Linked DNA regions of Homo sapiens: regions 2, 3 and 4 are each linked to region 1. The links are contacts of gene promoters, found by promoter capture Hi-C in blood cells and fetal thymus (Javierre and others, 2016). All regions are on one chromosome and are shown on one strand. Each heading gives the region's core, a stretch centred on a gene start or on the middle of the fragment in contact. The rest is flanking DNA. Distances are from core to core; before and after follow the strand shown. Region 1 holds the start of ATG9A (autophagy related 9A). Region 2 holds the start of CTDSP1 (CTD small phosphatase 1). Region 3 holds the start of ZNF142 (zinc finger protein 142). Region 4 overlaps STK36 (serine/threonine kinase 36).

Region 1 (3,194 bases), core at 263-2,762:
CCAAAAGGAGAAAGTACCCTTGGGCTTTGTCCACTACCAGCCTCCTTGGCTCAGAGGCAGAGGAGTAGTGACACAAGAAAGGCAGTAAGCTCAGGGCTGGGGGAGCCTTAACTCTGGCCAGTCTGGGTGTCTACTGCTGCTTTCCTGGCCCAAAGCCAGAATCTGTCCCTTTGTTGGGGGCTGTTTCATCTTCTATTTAACGGACAGAAGAGTCCCTCCCCCGCCCATCCTGGGAACCCTGGTCTCCCAAGAGACTAACAGTTTGGAAGCACTTCACAAACAAATGTTTGAGAAAAGCACATGGCCCTACCAGCTCCATGGACAGTATGTGCTCCTCTCCAGCCCTCGATGCTCTGCAGCTGCTGGAGGAGAAGATGTCAGGCCCCAGAGAGTGGGCAGTGGGGATAAAAAGGAACCCAACCCTCCCAGCCATCCACACCCCACCAAGAGGAGGCCAAGCATGGGGCAGGAAGGCTGCAGTGGGGAAGAAGCACCCTTCCAGCCCAGGACTACGAGCACTTCCTCTGGCTGTGCTAAACCGGGCCACTCTTCCAACTCCAGGGTCTCAAGAAGTAACTTAGGGACCCCATGGAGAATGAGTGGGTACAGACCTGAGGCCAGGGGCGCCTCTGGACTATTTCTCCATTGCCCTACCTTAGCCTCAGAAATGACATACTTCTCAGGGTCCACAAAACCTCAAGAGTCTTTCCTGAAGAGGACCTTTCTGGTCAACCCCTTCTCTTACTTCCCTAGCACCAAAGATCCAGCCGGTGAGCAAACCTTCTGGATGGGAAACCTTGACTGGGTCAGTGTAGACCCCCGATCCTAGGTGAATTTGTGGGTTCCCTAGGTCCTGTAAGCCAGGCATGGTCGAGGTGGTACTCACCTGTCCGTGCAGCCCCTGGGGGCCGTGGATCTTGGCCCAGCCTGGCCCCGGTGGGATTCCCTGGGCTAGTGAGAGCCCTGCCCCTCAGGGAAGTCACCACTCACAGGGTCAGTGTGGACCAGGGCCCGTGGAGCCCCGGCCGGCTGGGCCTGGGCTCAGGGGTTCCTGCGGATGTTGCAGGGATCGAGTCAGCCTTACAGCTGATAGCCCGGGTGGGTTGGCTTGCCTCCCCACACCCAGCCGCGGCGACCGTGGACCGGAGTCCACCTCGCCCCAGGGTCGCCCGGCCCCAGGCCAAGGGCTGGCAGCTCCCAACAGCGGACAACCTCGCGCGCGGCCCCGGCGCCCGCGCGCGCCCCCGTCTGCGCGCGCCAGCAATCAAAACATTCCGGCTGCGCGCCCCCGCCCCGCCGGCGGCGCCCCTTCCTCCGTTACCCGCCGCGAGCTCACTTAGGGCTCCGCAGGCACCCCTGGGCAAGGCCAGACACGGGGCCTGGGATTCCAATAACCGGTCTCACGTCTTACCTCAGGAACAGCGACCCGGGTGATTCCAGAGGCTCCGCCGGCTCCGCTCGGCTCGGCTCGGCTCGGCGCGACCCGCGGCGCTAGGCCGGGTGTCTGCCACTCACTGTCACCCGCAGCCAGGCTGGCCAATAAGCACGGGGGGCGGAGACACAACGGCCAATTCTCGGCTTCAGGGACGGGACTAAAGTCTCGAGGCGGGTCTTGGACAGTCAGCGGCCCAATAGTGTGCTCTACGTGGGGCGGGGCTCAGGTGCGGACGCCGCCGGTTGTCCTCTTCGCTGCTCCGTAGTGACGGGGATTGTTGTGTTGCAGAAATCCGGCAATCGACCTGAGGACTTGCGAGCCGCTCAGCTCCCGGGACGTTTGGTGCGTCTTCTAAGGGCGTGGGCGAGTTTACGCGGGCCAGTTGTTGCTGGTCGCATGGGTAACGAAGAAAGTTCGGCTAGGCAAGCTCAGTGATTTTTAACTCTGTTGGACTCGATTTGGGAGCCGAATGCCTATTTCATTCTTTTGTGGGCTGAGACTGGGGGTTTGAGAAAGTGGACGGGGGCCAAGGTATTCATCTCACAGTTGGTAGCAGGATGAGAGACGAGAAGTCTTGCGGTGCAGGAGAAACCAAGTCAGGCAGGCAGGAGACGCAGCAGTAGGATCTCGTTTGCAGGAGCCCTGTTTCTTACACGCTTTCTACTCCAGGAGCTGCTGCTAAATAATTTCTGCTCAGCCATGTCGCCGGCTCCAGATGCAGCCCCGGCTCCTGCGTCGATCTCCCTGTTTGACCTCAGCGCGGATGCTCCGGTCTTTCAGGGCCTGAGCCTGGTGAGCCACGCGCCTGGGGAGGCTCTGGCCCGGGCTCCGCGTACTTCCTGTTCAGGTATCCTGGAAGGTTTCGTGTGAAACGTGACAGGGCTCCTTACAGCGTATTGCCCGTTCAGGGAACACATTCTTATTGGTATTCCCGAGCTTAGGAGGCCAATTGATTTATCTTTCTGCTTGATTAAATTCACTTAATCTCTGGGTAATGTCCAGCACAGCCCTTGTTTTCAAACAAGTCTTTTTGCCATTGCATGTATCTCCTCACGTTAACACCATTCCCTTCAAAAACACTTTAAACTTTGTAGAGATAAAATTCTCAGATGTATTCCACATTTAACCAGGCCCCACTCAAATTATTCCTTTTTGCTGAATATGAAACAATTTATTATTTGTTTCGTATAGCTTTATTTTTTGAGAGTCTCGCTCTGTCGCCCAGGCTAAAGTGCAGTGGCACGATCTCCACCCACTGCAATCTCCGTCTCCCGGGTTCAAGTGATTCTCCTGCCTCAGCCTCCCGAGTAGCTGGGACTACAGGCCCGCACCACCATGCCCGGCTAATTATTGTATTTTTAGTAGAGACGGGGTTTCACCATGTTGGCCAGGCTGGTCTCAAACTCCTGGCCTCAAGTGATCCGCCTGGGTCAGCCTCCCAAAGTGCTGAGATTACAGGCATGAGCCACCGTGTCGGTCCTGTTTTGTGTAACTTTAGTTTGGCTACATCTTTTCTTGCACCTCTCCTTAGACAAACTGTACACTAATTGGAAATGTAAACTTTAAAAAGCATTTGGGAAGTAGTTTTTGTGCAGTGAAAAATAATTTTAAACTGAACAGAAATTATTTTCTTTAGGATTCACCTAAACAATCTGTTTGGCTAATTTAAATTAGACAAGACTCAAACTCAGCCAGTGGGGAGGACTTGCAGACGCTGGATCTCGGGAGAGGGCTACGTTGGAGAAGTTTAACCGACCCC
Region 2 (3,194 bases), core at 474-2,973, 830 kb before region 1:
GGCCCCGCATCCGGAGATAAAGCCGAGGCCCCACCCAGGGGGCCGGACCGCAGGGGAGACAGATGTCCCGCTCCCAGGCTGGAATCCCGCCTTTGCCCTTGCCGGTAGACCCGAAGCACGTCGCTTCCTTTCTTGAAACTCAGTTTCCTCATCTGTGAAATGGGTTAAGAAGGAGGCCGTTCTAAGGGGTAAATGAGATTAGGGGGCGCAGCCAGAGCAGGCCTAGGAAAACGCCAGCAGCGTGTGGCGATCACGGTGATGAAGCGCAATGGTGGCCGCCCCGTGGGCTACCCAGGAGCAGGAGGAGGGCCGAGGGATCCAGCCCGGGGACCGGGGTATCAGTCCCCGACAGTCCCCTCCCGCCCCTACTCCCAGCCTCAGCGCACGAAGCCGCCGCGCCTTCTGGCAGACGCCGCTCCCCTCCCTTCCCCTCCCGGCCCCCGCGCGGGGCCTCCCCTCCCCGGCTCCCCCTCGGCAGGGCCTGGCGGACGTGCGCCGCGTCGCACCCGGCGGCCGGACGGGACAGGACGCGCCCGCCCCGCCCCGCCACGGAGGCCCGCGGGAGAGGGGGAGGGGAGGAAGTGCCGAGGGGTGTTTGTCGGGCTTGGCATTATTAATTTTTAAATGGTGAACTTACAAAATAGTAACGACGAGTGAAAAGAACTTCATAAACGAGGAAAAAGACCAACCCGCAGACCCACGGCGCGCACCACGGAGGGGCTTGCAGCGAGAAGACAGGGACCTCCGTTCCCAAGTGCCCAGCACTGCGCCACAGGCCGGGTGGAACGGGCCTTGAGGGCCTCTGGTTTGAGGTCCCCCACGGTCGGGCTTTGGGCCCACCGCGTGCGGCGCCGTGCTGGGCTCCTAGGATCGGCAGCGAGTCCAGTGACTCCCACCGCACCCCCAGTAATCACAGGGCGGCCGTCGACCGCGGGCAGGGGAGGGGGTCTGGGAAGGCCCCTGGAGAAGGTGGCATTTCCTCGAGGTCGGTGGAATTTGGCTACGCGAAAGGAACAGCGCGTACGAAAACTTCAGGCGGGAACGCGCGGTGGCCCGTGCGCGGCGGGTAGACGTGCGGGGCCCCGGGTGGGGCCGTGGGGAGAGGTCGGCAGGGGGCTTTCCCAGGGCAGAGAGTTAGAATTTCACGTCCTACAGACCGGGGGCACCTCGCCCTGGGGCTGCGGGGGGCGGCGACCGTCCCATTCAAGAGCGTGATTCTGAGGTTTGCACAGCTGTTTCGGGCCAGCAGAGCCTTCGCTGGCTCTTGACGTCCTTGCGAGGTGATCTCTGCGACCACCAGACAGGAGAGAAGACCCATTTTACAGATGAGGTAGTGCTATCTCCAAGTCCTCAACGAGGAAACCGAGAAGCCTCTAGTCCCGGGTCTTCAGAAAACGCAGAGGTGGAGCCGCGCCGCACTCGGGCACTCCCCGGCGTGGGCGCTCCCGGCGGGCGGGCCTTGGCCGAGGGCGCTCGGCGGCCTGGAACGGTGAGCCGGGTGCCGGGCCTGCCACGCAGCCGCAGAGACTCAGCCCCGCCGGCGGGCGGCAGGAAGGGAGGCGACGCCCCCTGGAGCGCGGCAGGAACCCGGCCCGGCCCGCCTCCCAGTCCGCCTAGCCGCGCCGGTCCCAGAAGTGGCGAAAGCCGCAGCCGAGTCCAGGTCACGCCGAAGCCGTTGCCCTTTTAAGGGGGAGCCTTGAAACGGCGCCTGGGTTCCATGTTTGCATCCGCCTCGCGGGAAGGAAACTCCATGTTGTAACAAAGTTTCCTCCGCGCCCCCTCCCTCCCCCTCCCCCCTAGAACCTGGCTCCCCTCCCCTCCGGAGCTCGCGGGGATCCCTCCCTCCCACCCCTCCCCTCCCCCCCGCGCCCCGATTCCGGCCCCAGCCGGGGGGGAGGCCGGGCGCCCGGGCCAGAGTCCGGCCGGAGCGGAGCGCGCCCGGCCCCATGGACAGCTCGGCCGTCATTACTCAGATCAGCAAGGAGGAGGCTCGGGGCCCGCTGCGGGGCAAAGGTACCGGGGCTGCGGGGAGGGGGCCGAAGCCGGGGCGCCGTGGGAGGAGAGAAGGGGCCGGGATCTTCCCCAGGGGAGCCGCCGCCGCCGCCCCGGGCGGCCGCCTTAGCTGTGCCCGAAGCTCCCAGCCCGAGAGGGAGCAGGGAGAGAGTTTGAACTCAGAGGAGGCTCAGAGACGCGGGGCGGGGCCTGGCGCCTTTGGGGCGCTCCTGTTCGCTCGAGGTGAGGAAACTGAGGCAGGAATAGAGAGGGAACTCTTCGGGGGTTTCCTGGCAGGCATTGCGTGGTGCATGGGCGCCCCCCCACCATTGGCGCCAATGGGGCTGGGAGATGGGGGAGCTGAGGAGGGCGCCTATGGGCCACCCGCTGAGACTCCGCCCCACCCCCCACCCCCACCCCCCCGGGCTGCGGTCCGGTAGGGTCTTGGGAGGGGGCGCCGAGGTGACAGCAGGCTGGGGAGGCTTGGAGGGATCTCCCGCCAACACACAGCTACGTTCCCCACAAACTTCGCGTCACGCGTGGAGGCGCCGACCCCCTCGGAGGCACAGAGAGGACGGCCGGCACTTCCAAGAGTCGCTTGGCGCCCGCGGGGAGAGTCGTGCGCCTAGTGGGCACGCACCACCCCGCAAAGCCTCGCCGCCCCGACGAGGCTGCGTCCCCCAGCGTGGCTGGGCCGGGGTGGGGGGGTCTGTCTTCTCCTTTTCCCCGTGTGGACCTCAGGATCTGGACGCTGCCCCCAGGTCTGCCCACCCTCGCCTGGGTCTGGCTGCCCCGGAACTGAGGGCAAGGTGGAAAGGCTAGTTGCAGGGGGCCGGAGGGGGGTGGGGTGGGAGGGGTATCTGTCAATCAGGCTGCTGGGCTCCAGGTCGGAGGTCTGGGCGGGGCAGGGCAAACAGATGGCCACTGGACACTGGCCCCAGGCCGCGGGACTGCACCCCTGCCTCTGGGCCCAGCCGCAGTGAGGACTTCGTACCCACGGGGGTGGAGAGGATGGAGGGAGGGCAGGGGTGGACTGCCCTGGGTCCCAGGCCCTGGCTGTCCTGAGCAGGGGTGCTCAGGTAAGGTGGGGTCAGGAGGCACCGCAATGGGGCTGATCAGCAGCAGTCATGGAGGCTGTGAGAGGCAGGGAGAGAGCACCCCAGGACCTCCTTCTCCAGGCCACGCACTCCCTATGTGGGCGC
Region 3 (3,194 bases), core at 695-3,194, 570 kb before region 1:
CTCGGCCTCCCAAAGTGCTGGGATTACAGGCGTGAGGCACCGCGCCGGGCCTGGCTTCCCGAAACTCTTATCTTCTCTCTTCTGGCGTCCTAAGGGCACTCTGTACACAGCCCTATCAGAAACGAGGTCACACTGCACTGTTGTTTACCTGTCAGTCTCTCTCCCTAGATGTATAGCTTTTTTAGTAATTTGTTGACATTATCACTTCAATGATATTACTTTGTGATACTGACATTATCACTTCAACGAACACAAATCACCCACAATCGAAGATTCCAGTGAAGAACCACAGATATGGAGCTGCATTGGAGTAAAGCTAGGTATCTTGTACAAAACCAGTGGTTCCTCACCTATAACGTAACACATTTGGAGAAATTTCAAACTCATTAACTGACTATGGCCTCAAACTAAATATGGGAACATAACTGAGGAATGAATGACAATTGAATTGCATACCCTGTTATACATGGCTAAAATGAGTTTAAGCTGAATAATTAGTAATTAATAAGAATGATGGGAATCACTTCATGAAATTGAGTCACAGACAAGATGCAAAAAGAAAAAAAGAAGAAGAAACCAGGCCGGGCGCGGTGGCTCAGGCCTGTAATCCCAGCACTTTGGGAGGCCAAGGCGGGCCGATCACCTGAGGTCAGAAGTTCGAGACCAGCCTGGCGAACATTGTGAAACCCTGTTTCTACTAAAAATACAAAAAATCAGCAGGGTGTGGTGGCACACGCCTGTAATCCCAGCTACTCGGGAGGCTGAGGCAGGAGAATCGCTGGAACCCGGGAGGCGGAGGTTGCAGTGAGCCGAGATCGCACCATTGCACCCCAGCTTGGGCAACAAGAGCGAAACTCCGTCTCAAAAAAAAAACAAACAAAAACCAAGATCCTGCAATCTGATAGTCCCTATTTCCAGAATCCCATGGACTCAAAACAACAGATCACAGGGATTCACAAGGTGGCTGGAAAGTGCACTCCCGTGGTCAGAGGGATTCTCTGGAAACTGCAGCCTCCACTTACTGAATATTATCGCTGTTCTGGGGAATCTTCAAGCTTGACCATACATGGCCTCCGGGGGGAGCCAAGGAGGACGCTGAGCCGTCAAGATTAAGAACCTTCACCTGCGGGAGGGCAGGGTGAGGTAGGAGACAGGTGGGCACCAGAGAAGAAATACGCTTATCTTCCGGGCAGGAGGGCTGAGGAAGAGAAAGGACAGACTAAGGCAGAGAGAAGGCCTGGAGAAACAACGGGCCCCGGCCTAGCGACCCAGGTTCCCACCTGCCTCTGGCTCTGACTCACCGCGTGGTCTTGGACAGACACAGTCGCTTCGCTTCTCTGGGCCTCAGCTTTCCTATCTGTAAAATGGAGGTGATGACAGTGTCCACATCGTCGGGCAGGAGCTGGATCATAAGAGCCAGCGAACTGGAAAGGCGGTTTGTAACCTGGAAGGCTTGGGATGGAGCATCGTCATGATTTTGTCCTGAGAGCAGCAGGTACCCGGGCGGGGTCCAGAACCGTGACGCGACTGCAGCGCCGGGGCCCAGCTCGTCTGGGTGCTCCCTTCAGTACCTCCTTCCGAGAGTTCCCAGCGCCCAGGCCCACCCTGATCCCGGGGCTCGAAAAACTTTGCCTCCAGCTCGCTCCACCCGCATTCCCTTCCCAGTTCCGCCCCGCAGCCGCTCACTCACCTCCAGACCCAGAGCCGGCGGGAGCCGCATCTCTATGGTCGGCCGCGGCTGGAACGGCCCCCGGGGCCCGCTTTGTGCGACCGCCTCCGGCTCAGCCGCCTCTAGGATATTGGGGATGTGGAAGCCACTCTCTCTTCCTCTTGCCGGCTGCCGGGGTACTCTATGTTTTGTCTCTGTGGTTTTTCCCGCCCTCCACCCCCACTCCAGCCCTGAAGCCGGAGAAGCACCATCGAGAGCTCTGGGGTAGAGTGGCGTGGGCTTCTCTGTGGGTGTGGCGGGAAGTAGATGAAAGGACCCGGGGCGGGGCCGAACGCAGCTTCCCCAAGGTGCAGGCGCGGTGAAACCATCGAGACGGAGGGCCAGAGAGTCACGGCGGTGAGAGGGCTGAGTGACGGGTTACCCCAAACCATGTGGCTGGAGGCGCGAGCTGGGGTGTGGGCGAGGTTCAGGAGGGGGTTCCTGGGTGTCGCGGAGGGGCCGGGGACGGGAGAGCTTTGTCTGTGGCCTTCCATGCATAGGTGTTTTGGAATTCTGGATCCCAGTTCTGAGGCTCAGCCGAGGTCACTGCTGTCAGCTCACCTCCCTGCATGCCAGGCGCAGGGCAAAGTGGCCGGGGTTCGGGGTTGGAGGAGAGGTGTACTAGAAACAACTTTGCTCTTGTCCCTCAGGATCTTATTGTCTACGATGTGACGATCCGTGGAGAAAGTAGCAGATGGGCAGATTTTCATTTGGGGAGAATGAGGGAGAAAAGAACGGGCATTCCGAGCCAAGAGCACTGCATGAGCAAGGAGTTGGGAGGTTGCTTACTTGTTGAACATATTTGTTGCGTATTTGCATATTTGCTAAACAGGTAGTGTTAGGAGCTAATCCATGAAAGGTAGGTGGGCGCCGTATTGTAGAGAGCCTTGAGTACCAGGCTGAGTTTATACCCAATTCAGGGGTCTGCTGGGAGCCAGCCATTGAAGGTGCTGGAGCAGAGAGAGATATGGTATTGGAGCTGATCCCTATGATGAAAGATCTGGACCCTTGTGTAGATGTTCCGTGAAGCAGGAGGTGAAGACCTATTAAAATGCCATTTCAAGAACTACGATTTTAAAGACAGTTTAGGTGGGAGGTAATAAAGGTCTAAACAAGACGTTAAATATTGGGGACGTAAGGGGGAGGATATTTGAAGGACATTACTCATAACAAGACATAGGGTTACTGACAAGTCAACGGACGCTTCTCCCTTGCTGACTGCAGCCAATGGACCCCTTTTTATCATAGCTGGTCCCAGGGACCACAAAAATCCTGTCCATCCATTACCCTGATGTGAAGCCTGTTTATATAGCTCTTTTTGGTTTAAGGCATCTCCAGACATGGTCCTCTGGTAGGAAACAGGTATGAGTAGACTAATGAAGGACAAAATGGGATGAGGGACCTGGAGCCTCCACCCTTGCATTCCAATACCACCCTTACCCCACAAAAGGAGGGTATTGACCCACACAGTAATGCTGACCTGTGG
Region 4 (3,194 bases), core at 217-2,716, 530 kb before region 1:
TTTTTTTGAGACGGAGTCTCACTTTGTCGCCCCCAGGCTGGAGTGCAGTGGCGCGATCTTGGCTCACTGCAAGCTCTGCCTCCCGGGTTCACGCCATTCTGCCTCAGCCTCCCGAGTAGCTGGGACTACAGGCACCTGCCGCCACACCCAGCTAATTTTTTGTATTTTTTTTTTTTTTAGTAGAGACGGGGTTTCACCGTGATAGCCAGGATGGTCTCGATGTCCTGACCTCGTGACCCGCCCGCCTTGGCCTCCCAAAGTACGGGATTACAGGCATGAGCCACCTTGCCTGGCCGATGGTGAAGATCCTATAGGAATCTTGTGCAATCCATGGGGAAAATAATTAATGGGATTCTTGGTGGTAATGAGGTTAGAACTCACTGGTCTGCATTGAAGGCTAGGAATTAGACCTTTTGGCTTACTGTGAGTTACTGCTGCATTCATCAAGTCTTCCTGGGGACAAGTATATGTGTCCCTTAGTGCCTTGGTTTCATGGTCTATAACCAAAGAGAATGGAAGTAGACTTCTGGTCCTGATGATTCCTATCTCCAAGGTTTCTCTTCTGCCATTCAGTCTATTCCAAGTCCCCAAGAGCCCATTTCCTTTTTCTTCCTCTTCTCGAGTGGGAATTCCTGGGTAAATGAGAGTCCTCCGCACCTGCCCCAGACACCACCATTTCTGAGCCTCATGTTCTGTTCTATCATCTGTTCTCTATCCTACAGGTACTGGTGTCCCTGGGTGCCAGTGAGAAACTATCCTTGCTCTCTCTGGGGAATCAGTCACTGCCACACAGCAGTCCTAGGCCTGCCTCTGCCAAACACTGCAGGAAACTCATTCACCTCCTGAGGCCAGCCCATAGCATGTGATTCCAGATTCCTGCGGTCCAGCCTCCAACTTTGGTTGCCAGCTCTTTCTTATTCTACTACACAAGCCGCCAACTCAACTGAGAGCTAAAGAGACTAGAAAAGAGATAAGCTGCCAACTCAACTGAGAACAAGAAACTAGAAGAGATTTATATATAAAGCTTCTTCCTTCTCCCAGATGCAGGATGTTTTCAACCAGTAAATTTTATTGCTGTTGGTGCCAGAGAAGAGTCCTTTCTTCTCTACATCCAGGGGCCTTTTCTCCAATAATGTGCCTTTAACTCTAGGGACCTGCCTCACGGACCTTAGGGAAAAACCTCAACCTGAAAGATCTCTTCCTTTCTGGAGCTCCTTTAATCTTCCCAGCAGGTTTTTGCCTTAGACGTGCTGGCCCCAGGACAGTGATGAAGACAGAGCCTGTCTCAGCTCTAGGCTGTGGGGATCAATGCCATCAGTCCCTGTTATTGAGGGATTATCCCTTAGCCAACATTCCTATCTGTGGGTGGGCGTGGAGAGTGTATCTTTTTTTGGGGTGTGTGTGTATATGTGTGTGTGTATGTGTGTGTGTGTTTAATAGTTCTGTTTGTAAACTCTTTTAATAAAAGTTGTGCCTCACCATACTTGAAGCTCCCAGGACAAGGGTTGAGAGGCTCAACCCCTCTTTCAGCTTCTATGTGGTGTTGGAGGTGCTGGTATCGTGTTCACACAAGATCCTGGTCTGGCAGCTTATTTATATCATTTCTTGCCTTTACCAATTTCCCCCTTCCTAGATGAACTATATTTGGTTACCTACTTTCAAGTCAAGGCCGGTGGAGCTGAAATAGGAAAGGGTAAGATTCAACAGAGCGGTCAATTAGGTTGCTCAGACTTAGTGACTAATTTTAATATTTAGTGGAGTTCTAATGTGTAGGGACTCCAAGCTGCTGTAGAAGGATAGCTATTTTAAAGATTGTACAATTTACCAGAAAGGGCTTTTAGTCAGACCTGTTAGAATTATAATCTAACTGGAAGCATTGGAAAACCTTAACTCATTGGATGGCTTAGAACAAGCTTCCAGGGCCTTGATTTCTCCATCCATAAAATGAGGAGACTCCTTTCTGTCCTTCCTTAAATTCCAGTTGTTTTAGAAATGAAAGACAAGTAAAGTGCCCTTATTTTTATAAGAAATTTTGTTTAACCCTCATCTTCATTGTCCACAGTGTTTATACTTTAGCAAAAATAATATTTTTCTAGGGAGCACCATAATTTTCTTCTATCCAGATTATCTCAATTCAGTTCAATGTATATTTTTTGAGTCCTTTCTGTATGCCAGATACTATTCTAGGTACAGGAGATAAAACAGTGCCCATCATAGAGTTTCCATTCTGGTCGGGGAGATAGTGAAATTATTAAAAGAATAGTATGTAGGAAGGTGGTAAAAGCTATGGAGAAAAAGAAACCAGGGAAAGGAGATGAGGAGTGCTGAGTCGGATGGTCAGGGTAGGCCTCACTAGAAGGTGACACTTGAGAAAAGACTCGAAGGAGGCGAGGGAGTGAGTTGTGCACCTATTTTGGGGAAAAGCCAAGGCCCTGAGATGAAAGCATGCCTGGCATGCTTGAGGAGCTATGAGGAACCAGTATGGATTAAGTGAGTAAAGAAGGTGGAGAATAGTAGGAAATGAGACAGGAAGGTAATGGTGGGGGCCAGATATTGTAGGCTTTGTAGACCTTGGTGAAGACTTGGGCTCTTACTTTGAATGAAGGAGGCATCTATTGCAGGCTTTTGAACAGAGAATTTTATGAACTACCTTGCATCCTAAACGGATCATTCTTCATTCTGGTCTTGTGAATGGCTATGGGGAGTAGGGGAGAATGCGAAGTAGGATAAGCAGTTAGGAGGCTATTGTTATAATAATCCAGGCAAGAGACAATGGTGTCCTGGATGGCGACTGGGGTGATACCTATGGAGTGATAAAAAAGTAGTCAAATTTTGAATATATTTTGAACATGGAACAAACAGGATTTCTTGACTGATTGGAGGTGAGGGTATGACCAAAAGAAAGCAGTCAGGGATGACTCCAAGGTTTTTGGTCTGAGCAATTGGAAGAATGGAATTGTCATTCACTAAAATGGGGAAGGCTAGCAGTGGAGTGATAATGGGTGGGAATGAGTTCAATTGTGAACATCTTGTCTTTCAGTTGGAAATGTTTGAACACACACAGAGGTAGAGGATAGTTCAGTGTACTCCATCACTACTTGAGCAGCTACCATATCTATTTTGTTATTCTGGTGTTTGTTTGTTTTTGAGACAGGGTCTCGCTCTGTCACCCAGGCTGGAGGGCAGTGGCATGA

The links. Contacts are between HindIII fragments. The CHiCAGO score rates a contact against its expected background, and 5 or more counts as called.
Region 2: a contact is called between the fragment with the promoter of CTDSP1 here and the fragment with the promoter of ATG9A in region 1, in 7 of 17 cell types (total CD4 T cells, total CD8 T cells, non-activated CD4 T cells and 4 more). The highest score is 8.7, in total CD4 T cells.
Region 3: a contact is called between the fragment with the promoter of ZNF142 here and the fragment with the promoter of ATG9A in region 1, in 7 of 17 cell types (naive B cells, total B cells, naive CD4 T cells and 4 more). The highest score is 8.2, in naive B cells.
Region 4: a contact is called between a fragment that was not itself captured here and the fragment with the promoter of ATG9A in region 1, in 2 of 17 cell types (total CD8 T cells and activated CD4 T cells). The highest score is 6.9, in total CD8 T cells.

What each region holds. Positions count from the first base shown.
Region 1 is chr2:219,228,124-219,231,317 of GRCh38, forward strand. ATG9A (autophagy related 9A) reads right to left here and starts at 1,513. Exons shown (of 16, transcript NM_001077198.3): 1 at 1,412-1,513; 2 at 311-362. It overlaps ANKZF1 (ankyrin repeat and zinc finger peptidyl tRNA hydrolase 1), which reads left to right and starts at 1,683. Exons shown (of 14, transcript NM_018089.3): 1 at 1,683-1,777; 2 at 2,105-2,282. The coding sequence starts at 2,135. RefSeq lists enhancers at 453-1,001, 1,002-1,549, 1,550-2,097, 1,768-1,877 and silencers at 1,228-1,277, 1,488-1,617. The HindIII fragment of the contact is 5,267 bases long and covers 1-3,194 here.
Region 2 is chr2:218,398,145-218,401,338 of GRCh38, forward strand. It overlaps CTDSP1 (CTD small phosphatase 1), which reads left to right and starts at 1,724. Exons shown (of 7, transcript NM_021198.3): 1 at 1,724-2,013. The coding sequence starts at 1,947. RefSeq lists silencers at 372-641, 1,332-1,701, 1,772-1,851, 2,012-2,171. The HindIII fragment of the contact is 4,794 bases long and covers 1-3,194 here.
Region 3 is chr2:218,657,679-218,660,872 of GRCh38, forward strand. ZNF142 (zinc finger protein 142) reads right to left here and starts at 1,945. Exons shown (of 11, transcript NM_001379659.1): 1 at 1,691-1,945; 2 at 1,302-1,452; 3 at 1,023-1,198. BCS1L (BCS1 ubiquinol-cytochrome c reductase complex chaperone) reads left to right here and starts at 2,005. Exons shown (of 8, transcript NM_001079866.2): 1 at 2,005-2,065. RefSeq lists enhancers at 1,069-1,188, 1,999-2,128. The HindIII fragment of the contact is 10,571 bases long and covers 1,054-3,194 here.
Region 4 is chr2:218,701,144-218,704,337 of GRCh38, forward strand. It overlaps STK36 (serine/threonine kinase 36), which reads left to right. Exons shown (of 27, transcript NM_015690.5): 27 at 723-1,572. The coding sequence ends at 866. Among named protein-coding and RNA genes, the nearest start is that of TTLL4, 8.1 kb to the right of the region's middle. The HindIII fragment of the contact is 889 bases long and covers 1,023-1,911 here.